Linked DNA regions of Homo sapiens: region 1 is linked to region 2. The links are contacts of gene promoters, found by promoter capture Hi-C in human tissues and cell types (Jung and others, 2019). All regions are on one chromosome and are shown on one strand. Each heading gives the region's core, a stretch centred on a gene start or on the middle of the fragment in contact. The rest is flanking DNA. Distances are from core to core; before and after follow the strand shown.

Region 1 (6,522 bases), core at 4,023-6,522, 140 kb after region 2:
AAAAAAAATTGTTTGGAACATCCTCCAAGATGCAAGACTGTCGGTTCCTCAGAGTTGCACAGGAAGGACGGCAGAGTGCAGTTGCCCAGAGGTGAAGTCCCATCTCTGCCATTTGCTGGCTGTGTGACCGGGCACAAATCATTAACTTCTCTGAGCCTGTATTTCAACATCTGTTACTGTTAAGTAATAGTAGTTGAATTATTTTTATTTTTATTTTATTATTATTATTGTTTTTTAAGACGGAGTTTCGCTCTTGTTGCCCAGGCTGGAGTGCAATGGTTCAATCTCAGCCCACCACAACCTCCACCTCCTGGGTTCAAGTGATTGCCCTGCCTCAGCCTCCCAAGTAACTGGGATTACAGACATGCGCCACCACACCCGGGTAATTCTGTATTTTTAGTAGAGAAGGGGTTTCACCATGTTGACCAAGCTGGTCTGGAACTCCTCACCTCAGGTGAGCCGCCCATCTCGGCCTCCCAAAGTGCCGGGATTACAGGTGTGAGCCACCATGCCTGGCCTTATTTTTACTTTTGAGACAGAGTCTCACTCTTGTCGCCCAGGTGGCAGGGGAGTGGTGCACTCTCTGCTCACTGCAACCTCGGCCTCCTGGGTTCAAGTGATTCTCCTGCCTCAGCCTACTGAGTAGCTGGGATTACAGGCGTGCAGCACTATGCCCGGTTAATTTTGGTATTTTTGGTAGAGATGAGGTTTCACCATGTTGGCCAGGCTGCTCTGGAACTCCTGACCTCAAGTCATCCACCTGCCTCAGCCTCCCAGAGTGCTGGGATTAGAGGTGTGGGGCACAGTGCCTGGCCTGTAGTAGTTGAATATTTATTATTAATCTACAAGTTGCGCATTACGCAAGCCCTAGATATAGGGTCCCCCAAACTTCTAGAACAAGGGCTTCCCCACAATCCTGGCAGGCAAGCCTCCCCTGGGGTTCCCAACTTCTTTCCCCACTGAAGTTTTTACCCCCTTCTCTAATCCCAGCCTCCCTCTTTCTGTCTCCAGGTGCTCCGAGAGATGCTCCCTCTCCCCTCATGCTCCCTCCCCATCCTCCTCCTTTTCCTCCTCCCCAGTGTGCCAATTGAGTCCCAACCCCCACCCTCAACATTGCCCCCTTTTCTGGCCCCTGAGTGGGACCTTCTCTCCCCCCGAGTAGTCCTGTCTAGGGGTGCCCCTGCTGGGCCCCCTCTGCTCTTCCTGCTGGAGGCTGGGGCCTTTCGGGAGTCAGCAGGTGCCCCGGCCAACCGCAGCCGGCGTGGGGTGAGCGAAACTGCACCAGCGAGTCGTCGGGGTGAGCTGGCTGTGTGCGATGCAGTCAGTGGCTGGGTGACAGACCGCCGGACCGCTGTGGACTTGCGTGGGCGCGAGGTGGAGGTGTTGGGCGAGGTGCCTGCAGCTGGCGGCAGTCCCCTCCGCCAGTACTTCTTTGAAACCCGCTGCAAGGCTGATAACGCTGAGGAAGGTGGCCCGGGGGCAGGTGGAGGGGGCTGCCGGGGAGTGGACAGGAGGCACTGGGTATCTGAGTGCAAGGCCAAGCAGTCCTATGTGCGGGCATTGACCGCTGATGCCCAGGGCCGTGTGGGCTGGCGATGGATTCGAATTGACACTGCCTGCGTCTGCACACTCCTCAGCCGGACTGGCCGGGCCTGAGACCCATGCCCAGGAAAATAACAGAGCTGGATGCTGAGAGACCTCAGGGATGGCCCAGCTGATCTAAGGACCCCAGTTTGGGAACTCATCAAATAATCACAAAATCACAATTCTCTGATTTTGAGCTCAATCTCTGCAGGATGGGTGAAACCACATGGGGTTTTGGAGGTTGAATAGGAGTTCTCCTGGAGCAACTTGAGGGTAATAATGATGATGATATAATAATAATAGCCACTATTTACTGAGTGTTTACTGTTTCTTATCCCTAATACATAACTCCTCAGATCAACTCTCATGGATTTGATCATTGGTGGCCCTTGGTGTTAAGTTGCTGACTACTCAGTCTCAGAGGACACCACCTTGCTGGGGAGTGGGAGGGGACATTTCACGATGTGGGTGGAGGAGGAGAGAAACTAGAACAGGCAAGCAGATGGCCAGGGGACCTTGAGAACGTGGCCCACAGAAGGCCTTTAAGTATCTGGGAGATGGGGTTCAAATGGGAAATCTTACTTGGTAAGAGGGGGCAAAGGTTGACTTAGAATATTCTGTTTTGAGGTAATAAGCTACCGATCACAGAGGAGTACAAGCAAGGTTGAATGAGAAGTGATCAGGATGCTGGAGAGTTCAGCCCTCGGCAGGGAGCTGAAGTCAGGTTTCTAGCCCTCTTCCCTGTCCCAACCTTTACTCTACATTGGGAAAGAAACAGACCTTAAAATTTTCCAGCTTGATGGCCAGGTGCGATGGCTCATTCCTGTAATCCCAGCACTTTGGGAGGCCGAGGTGGGTGAATCACCTGAGGTCAGGAGTTCGAGACTAGCCTGGCCAACATGGTGAAAACCCGACTCTACTAAAATTATATAAAGAAATTAGCTGGTCGTGGTGGCGGATGCCTGTAATCCAAGCTACTCTGAAGGGTGAGGTAGGAGAATTGCTTGAACTCAGGAGGCAGAGGTTGCAGTAAGCCAAGACTGTACCATTGCACTCCAGCCTTGGCAAAAAGAGCGAAACTCCATTTCAAAAAAAAGAAAAAAATTTTGTCCAGCTTGAGTGGGGCATGAGTTTCTGACTAACTCATCGGCCCCCTGGCTAGGATCAGGGGGTCACTGTCCATTGAGAGCTGTTGAGTAGGGCCAGCAAAATCCAACAGAAAGGCCCCAGAAGCCTGAATGGGGGAGGAGGGGTAAGTGGGATCCTGGGCATGGCTGCAGAAAGTAGCCTCAGTTTTCCTTGTCTGCAGAATGGGCTGGTAGGATGAGATAATGGGGGTTGAGCAGTCAGAGGCCTTGACCAAAAGCTTTTTTTTTTTTTTTTTTTTTTTTTTTTTTTTTGAGATGGAGTCTCGCTCTGTCACCCAGGCTGGAGTGCAGTGGTGTGATCTGAGCTCACTGCAGCCTTCACCTCCCGGGTTGAAGTGATTCTTCTGCCTTAGTTGGGATTACAGGTGTGCGCCACCACGCCCGGCTACTTTTTGTATTTTTTGGTAGAGACAGGGTTTCGCCATGTTGGCCGGGCTGGTCTCAAACTCCTGACCTCAAGTGATCCGCATGCCTCGGCCTCCCAAAGTGCTGGGATTACGGGCATGAGCCACTGCGCCCGGTGATCAAAAGCTGTTTATAGTGAAGAAGTGACAAGGGAAGCCAGGGACAGACCACAGGCCTTCACAATAGCCCTTCACATGTTACCCATCGCCCCACCAACTCTCTCTCTCTCTCTCAGGTCCAGCTTTGAGCAAAGGACATAGGCAACTTCTCCCCGCATCTATACAGACCAGGCCCCTGGGCAGGGTGGGGCGTGGCTGCCTCAGTTTCTACGTCTCCTTGTTTTCCATCTGTGACTTTGGTCGTTTTTGCCACCTTCATCTCTGTCTCTAACTTCCAGTGTCTGTCGCCTCTGGGTAGTACTAATAGCTCCCTTTCCATCGTGGTCTCTTTCTTCCTCCCTGTCTCTCCCCTTTCTTGTTGTATTTATTCCTCACTCATCAAAGCCCATCTTTTTCGCTATGGTCCGGTGCACTTCTCTCTAGATCCCTTTCTCTTTCCCCACCCAGCCTACCCAGGTGGAAGTTTTCAACCAAATCAAAGGCAGGCAGGACAGCTGACACCAGCGCTGACTCCTTCAGCACGTGCGGGAAGGGTTGGGGAGCCCCGGGGACATCTGGAAATCGTTACCCCGAGGTGGGCAGGCCTGGCAGAGGGAGGAAGCAGCCAGGAGGTTCTGGACCCTGGAGCAAAGGGGGGTGTTTCTCATGGATGTCCTGAGGTGCTGGGGGCAGTGCAGGGGTCTCTGTCTGTATCTCTGACACCCCCAGGTCTCTGTCCTTCTTTCTGTGTCTCTGTCTCCCCCACCCCCTGGGTCTCTGAAATCCTGAACTTCTCCATCCCCTTCTGTCCGCCTCTTTCTGACTCTCCATCCCCCACTCCGTGTTTCTCTGTGCCCCTCTTGGAGTCCCTGTCTCTCTGTCTCTGGGTCTCTTAATCACTCCATCCATCCATGTGCCTGCAGGCCTTTCATTGGCTGGATTGGGGTGGGCGGGTTCTGTCACCTGGGGCAACAGCAACAAACCAGCTCCTGCTTGGCTACAGGGAGGGGGTGGAACCATGGCCAGTGGCACCCTGGCTGTGCGCTGTGGCCCCCCGTGGTCTTTCATCTCTGCAACCGAGATGCCTGAATCCTGGCCCAACTGGCATCTCACCAGCAGCTACGTTACCCATGGCATTATCCCACCCGTACCCTTCCCCCCGCCCACGGTGCAGGTGGGCAGACCCTAGGCTGAAGCCCTGCGGGGCCTGGGGACCCAGAAAGATGGGGGCTGAGAAAAGGGGATTGGGAGCTTGGACTCCTCTCTGAAGGAGGAGGGTCCTGGAGTCCTGGGTCTGAGAGAGGAGGCGCCAGGGAATTTGGATGCCAGGGACTGCAGAGGAAAGGGCTGGGGGCCGACTGGAAGAGGTCAGAGTTTGGGGTGGGGGGTGATAGGGACTCCTGAGTCTTTCTAGCTGATGTGCGGCGCCTTCTCTCCAGTCCACGGTCGCGGACCCTCTACCTCCGACTGCAAAGCAGGATTCTCGCATCTGGGCTTTCGACGAGGTCCTCAGCAGATGGGAGACAACCTCTGGCTCGGCCTACGTGCCCAAGACCCATGGCGGGCCCTGCGCCCAGCCCAGAGCCCCAGAGCCTGCAGACCCCACGCGGACTGTGGGGATCAAGGATTCAGGAGAAAAGGTAAGATTTGGGGAGCGCCGGAGTCTGCGGGGGACTGCATTTGAGTCCCCTGCTCCTTCACATGAGTCTCTGGGTTGCCTTTCCGCAGCTCAGACACCGCAGCTGAACCCTCCTACTGACCACAAAGTACCAGAGCAGCGAGACGAGGGCGCAGTACACTTGCTCTCCCGGCCCGGACGCGCGCGCCCCCAAATACGTCGGGCCCCAGCCCCTCACAACTCTCGGACCACCACCGCGGGGGGCCTTCCCAGGTGTCTGGGTGGAAGCCGGCGCTGGCGAGACCAGCGGAGCTCCGGGAGCCTGGGGCGGGGCCAGAAGGAAATCACAGCTTTGGGGCGTGGCTAAAGGATCTGGGGCGGGATCGGGAGGTTAGAGGAGCGGGAGGAAGGGCTGGGCATCCACGCCAGGCCAGAAGGACCAGGGGCTGGAAACTCGCCTTCAGGGCTCCTAAGCTGCTGCGGAGCTAGACGGCGGGCTGTGGGTGGGGAGGAGACTAGAATATTCTGAGACGTGGTAGGGTGGGAGTTAGGAGAGGTAACCTGGAGTTGTTGCCCAAGATGCAGCTCAGCTCCAGTGGCCACACCAAGAAGGCTTGAGACCGGGGGCAGAACCAGGGGGATTTTGTGGTGGCTGGGGGCCTGCATTTGAGTTCCTTGACCAGCAGGAGGGCTTGGATTTAGGGAGGTGAGGCTGGGAAGGGTTCGGGTATGAGAAAGGAAGCTGAAGTTCCCTGGCGTGGGTGGCAGGAAGGGCTCTGACCCTGGGGCGGGGTGTGAGGGCCGTGGCCGTCATGGCTGTCGAGGCCGAAGGAGAGGGATTCTGAACTCGGGACCCAGGACTTGGGATGGGGTATGAAATCTATGTCTTGGGTATGCCTCCTCCCCCAATCTTGCTCAGGCTCTAATCGCCTGCACGAAGAACCCCGCGCTGTCTGGCCCACCCTTCACAGTATCCGACCGGGGCGTCCTGAACCGCCGCCAGCTCTATCTGACCACCTCGGCGCGGGACTTTCGGTTCTATCCCAAGTAAGCCGGGCTCTCGCTCGGCACCGCCTCCTGCACAGCCCCCGCCATGGCCGGTGCACGCCGAGCCCCTGGGCTGGCTCCCATTCCCTGACCGGTGGTCTCAGTCTCGACTCCTATAGCAGCAACAACCACAGTTCAGACCCCAGCCCCTCCCTCTTTTAGCACCCAGGAGTCCTTAGTGTCACCTCCAGGAACCGCGGTAGGGACAGGAAGCCTGCACAGCGGCTCGAGGGGATTCTGGATCTGAGGGCAGGGCCTCCTTCGGTACTTGAGCCCCCACATGCTCCTTCGCAAGGAAGCGAAAGCCCCCGTTTCCTTCCCTAGGATGCGAAAGCTCAGCTTCCAGGACGTTAAGTACCTCGAGGACCCAGGAACGCAGGCAACGCGTGCCCGGTCGCGTCCTTCCTAAGGGGTGCTCGCCTGGAAATGCAGGAGTTTGAATGTGCAGACTCCTTAGATCCCGAGGTCTGAAACTCGTCCCCAAGGATCCAGCTGTATCCTCACCATCCCGCCCTGCTCCCACAGGACGGAGCCGTCCGGATACCCCCGCAAGGACTACCTGACCTACTGGAGCTTAGAAGAGACGCCCCAACTCTGGAGTCACGACCCGCAGCGGCAGCCC
Region 2 (4,599 bases), core at 965-3,464:
GAGATAGGAGAATCGCTTCGATCTGGGAGGTGGAGGTTGCAGTGAGCTGAGATCGTGCCATTGCACTCCAGCCTGGGCAACAAGAGCAAAACTCCATGTAAAAAGTAAAGTACAGGTTCCTCTTCAAAGACTTTCCTCCCCATCTAATTAACAATAAATAGTAACTTCTCTTAGAAACAAAATTTATTCAAACACCTGTGCTAACATTCTTAAATATCTACTAGCCATAAAAAATAAATCAATGTACTTTATGTTCTTAGCTCTCACAATTTAGCCTAAATATTTGCCCTGACATACTTATACTGGTTCAAGCAAGCATTAGATCATAGCCTGTTCCTCTTCCTTATTTAAAAGTGTTTTTACCTTTCTCAACATTCCACAAGTTACTTCCTCCTTCCTTTGTTCTCCTCTGCCTTCGCTTCTTTTAAAAACTTCTAAGTTACTAGCCAATCAAGACAAATACAAAATGTAAAGTCCGGTTCCAGCCAATAAAAACCAGACACAGCAGTAAAATAGACGCGTCAGGTTATAAATGACCCTATCTCCTTTGTTCCGTGTACTCTCATGACAAAACTGCTGGCGAGTGTACCCTTTCTACAAAAAATAAAAATGGCTTTACTAAAAAAATTAAATTTATGTTCAAGTACTATTTCTTTACGACACCACAAAATAAACATTTCTAACATCCATCTCAAAAAAAAAGAAAAAAAAAAAGAAAAAAGAAAGACAGACAGAAAGACAGAGGGGGTGGGGTAGGCAGAGACCCAGAGAGATGATGATGGGGAATATAGGGTATCACTCAGAGATCCAGAGAAAGAGGGAGACAGAGACTCAGAGAGACAGATATTTTCTTAGAGCCAGGAGGACAGAGACCCAGGGAGCGGGGACAGAGACTCAGAGGAAGGCTGTCAGGCCGTCATCCCCCCTACCGTCCATGTCCTCCTGGGGAATCTGCCCGAAGATCTGCAGGTAGGGACGGTAGAAGACGCGGCGCAGGATACTTGGGAAGTCACTGTCCCGTGGCCTCAGGAGCCCCTCCGTGGCCACGCCATAGGCTACCAGCCACACGCCGAGGAAGAAGAGGAAGAAGAACACGTCCTTCATCTGTGGGGAGATGTGGCTGAGTCTGGCCCCGCCCTTTCCTACTCTGGCCCCACCCCTATATCCCAAAAACACGCCCCATTGCTCCCCAAAGTCACGCCCCTTCTCCACGGACCACTCCCTCCCTGGCCCCACCCCTTTCCCTATGTCCCCGCCCACTTTGGCCCCGCCCCTGCCTCACCATCTTGCTCACGATGACGATCTTGGGCCCCAGCTGTTTGTTGACCGTGAAGATGTGAAGCAGCCGCACCGTGAAAACCATGAAGTCGATGCAGAGGACAGTGCGGCCCAGGTGGTACAAACCCGGGGTCAGCCTGGGGTGTGGGGAGATGCCACAAGGGTCAAGTGTCACAAGACGCCAAGGAAAATGGAAGTCTTCCCAATGCCATCCTTCAGAGGAAGCTGCAGCCTCCACCGGGCAGGACCAGGACCCTCCCAGTCACCCGGGGTTTACTCAAATTTATTCAGTACCAAGCTGGTCCATGCAGGGCCCTGGCACCCATTTTTAAAATGGCTGCGCCTATTAAGTAATGACTGAATGAACGATGGCCTTAGCAAAGAGCTGGTCCCTGTAAGAATCAAGCTGGAAAAACTGCCGGAATATCTGTCCAACCTATAAAAGGCAAAACATATAGAGTCCTTACAAACTAATACGCAAAAGGAAGGAAGCCAGATAAAGGATACCACGTACAATTCACAGAGGACGTTCAAACGGCCAGTAAACATCAATAATTCCTATGGGGAAAATAAAAATTCTACCCCTATTTTGCATCCTCATGTACTTAAACTTTGGATGGATTAAAAACCTAGTGTATGGACAGACGCGGTGGCTCACGCCTGTAATCCCAGCACTTTGGGAGGCCGAGGCAGGCTCAAAAAAAAGAAAAGAAAAGAAACATACAAAAGTGAAAGTGAAAAGACAAGCCACAGACTTCGAGAAGATATGAAGATATTAAGACCAACAAAACTACCGAGGATTAGGATCCAGAGTATAAGGAGTATATACATTTATACATATACAAATCAATGAACCCCAATTAAAAAAACGGGAGGGTGGCCGGTCGCAGTGGCTCACGCCTGTAATCCTAGCACTTTGGGAGGCCGAGGCGGGCGGATCACGGGGTCAGGAGATCGAGAACATCTTGGCTAACACGGTGAAACCCCGTCTCTACTACAAAATACAAAAAATTAGCCGGGCGTGGAGGCAGGCACCTGTAGTCCCAGCTACTCAGTAGGCTGAGGCAGGAGAATGGCGTGAACCCGGGAGGCGGAGGTTGCAGTGAGCCGAGATCGCGCCACTGCACTCCAGCCTGGGCTACAGAGCGAGACTCCGTCTCAAAAACAAAAACAAAAACAAAAACCAAAAAAAAAACAAGGGGGCACAAGGACATATGGCCATTAAGCTTAGGAAAAGATGTCCAACCTATCTGGTAGTCAAGAGTGCATAAATTATAACAAGGAGAGGTCATGTTTACCCATTAAATTGGCAAATTTTTTTTCAGTTAAATTGAGAGCTACATTTTAGAGTGAAAGTATCAGGCATTGTCGAGCATGGCCTCAAGGGGGCACTCTCTTACCCTGATGGCAGGTGTGGAAATGAGTGAAGCTACTTAGAAGGAAATCTATCCATGTCAAAAATAAATGTACCCTTTGACCCATAAACTTTACATCTGGGATGTAAACTTTTATTATTTTGGAATAATAAAAAAACAGAAGGCTGAGCATAGTAGCTCACGCCTGTAATCCCAGCACTTTGAGAGGCCAAGGTGGGAGGATTGCTTGAGCCCTGGAGTTTGAGACCAGCCTGGGCAACAGAGTGAGACCCTGTCTCTATTTAAAACAAAAAAAGAAAGAAAGAGAGAACCTAAATGTCCATCTAGAGGGAACTGGCGAAACAAAGGATGATTCATCCATTCAATTCCGGAGATGATTAGACATTTCTCCCTTTTTTTTTTTTTTTTTTTTTTGACAGAGTTTTGCTCTTTTCACCCAGGCTAGAGTGCAGTGGCATGATCTTGGCTCACTGCAACCTCCGCCTCCCAGGTTCAGGCAATTATCCTGCCTCAGCCTCCCGAGTAGCTGGGATTACAGGCGCCTGCCACCATGCCCGGCTAATTTTTTGTATTTTTAGTAGAGATGGGGTTTCACCATGTTGGGCAGGCTGGTCTCAAACTCCTGATCTCAGGTGATCCACCCGCCTCGGCCTCCCAAAGTGCTGGGATTACAGGCATGAGCCACCACGCCAGGCCCGTTTCTCCCTTTTAAGCTGAGATCTTTCCATTTTTCACCTGGAAAGTGGTAGGCTTGATAAACTGTCCAAAATATCACTGGCAATCCTAGAGCATGGTAGCATATGGCCTTAGCCCTTTCATCTCAAAAGTCACTTTATACAAAATACAACAAATTACAAACAGAAGTATTAGTGTTCTGCAAAACTCTCATATCTTGCTCCCTGCTTGAATAAATTATTTATGTTGAATCACTTTGTAACACTGCTAACATAGCTTAGAGGAAGCCTGCCTCTCAGCGTGTCTACTGGGAAAAGCTTGAGTAGGGATCATCACTGTCATCACTGTCAACCATTCAGGATGTGTCAGGTCCCTTGTAAACAGTCACCAGGTTGTTGGCCAGGCACGGTGACCCACATCTGTAATCTCAGCACTTTCAGAGGCTAAGGCCAGTGGATCACTTGAGGCCAAGAGTTCAAGACCAGCCTGGTCAATATGGCAAAGCCCCATCTCTACAAAAAAAATACAAAAAAAATTTAGCTAGGTGTAGTGGTGCATGCCTGTAATCCCAGCTACTCACGAGGCTGAGGCAAGAGAATCGCTTGAACCCAGGAGGTGGAGGTTGCAGTGAGCCAAGATCGTACCACTGCACTCCAGTCTGGGCGACACAGCGGAACTCTGGCTCAAAAAAAAAAAAGAAAAGAAAGAAAACAAAAACAAACAAACAAACAAAAAACCAGTCACCAGGTTGTATCCACAAACTTTTCTGTTTGCTCTCCTCAAAAGGAGGAGTATCCTAATGCAGGATACTCCATAATGCAGGCAGGGCAAGGGTTAAACCCTTAGCTTGGAGGGATGGAAGGAAGCATAGAAGGAAGGAAGGAAGGAAGGAAGGAAGGAAGGAAGGAAGGAGGGAGGGAGGCAGAGGGGCAGAGGACAGAGGGAGAGAGAGAGAAAGAAAAGAGAAAAAGAAAAAGAAAAGAAAGGAAAAGAAAAGAGAAAGAAAGAAAAGAAAGAGAGAGAAAGAAAGAAAGAAAGAAAGAAAGAAAGAAAGAAAGAAAGAAAGAAAGAAAGAAAAAGAAAGAAAGAGAAAGAAAGAAAGAAAAAAAAAGGAAAGAAAGAAAAAGTCGGGGGCAGGAGGGCAAGGGGCCTGGGACCAACGAGCTATGTGGAGGAAGAGAAGGGAGGAGGTGAGGTTGGCACCCAGGTCGGGGCGCTCCCATAAATATCTGTTAAACTTCAGGCCTAGCAATAAATAGCAGCAGAGGCT

Evidence for each region. Contacts are between HindIII fragments. The study calls those that stand out against the background at their distance.
Region 1: the fragment with the promoter of CGB7 here is called in contact with a fragment that was not itself captured in region 2 in 3 of the 25 tissues and cell types used here (dorsolateral prefrontal cortex, lymphoblastoid cells and mesendoderm cells).

Annotation. Positions count from the first base shown.
Region 1 is chr19:49,056,499-49,063,020 of GRCh38, reverse strand. It overlaps CGB7 (chorionic gonadotropin subunit beta 7), which reads left to right and starts at 5,272. Exons shown (of 5, transcript NM_001385261.1): 1 at 5,272-5,559; 2 at 5,773-5,900; 3 at 6,426-6,522. NTF4 (neurotrophin 4) reads left to right here. Exons shown (of 2, transcript NM_006179.5): 2 at 1,012-1,893. The coding sequence starts at 1,024. The coding sequence ends at 1,656. It also overlaps the pseudogene LOC124904739. RefSeq lists an enhancer at 5,992-6,522. The HindIII fragment of the contact is 5,956 bases long and covers 1-5,367 here.
Region 2 is chr19:49,197,116-49,201,714 of GRCh38, reverse strand. It overlaps TRPM4 (transient receptor potential cation channel subfamily M member 4), which reads right to left. Exons shown (of 25, transcript NM_017636.4): 18 at 1,283-1,415; 19 at 930-1,104. Among named protein-coding and RNA genes, the nearest start is that of TRPM4, 42 kb to the right of the region's middle. The HindIII fragment of the contact is 7,245 bases long and covers 1-4,599 here.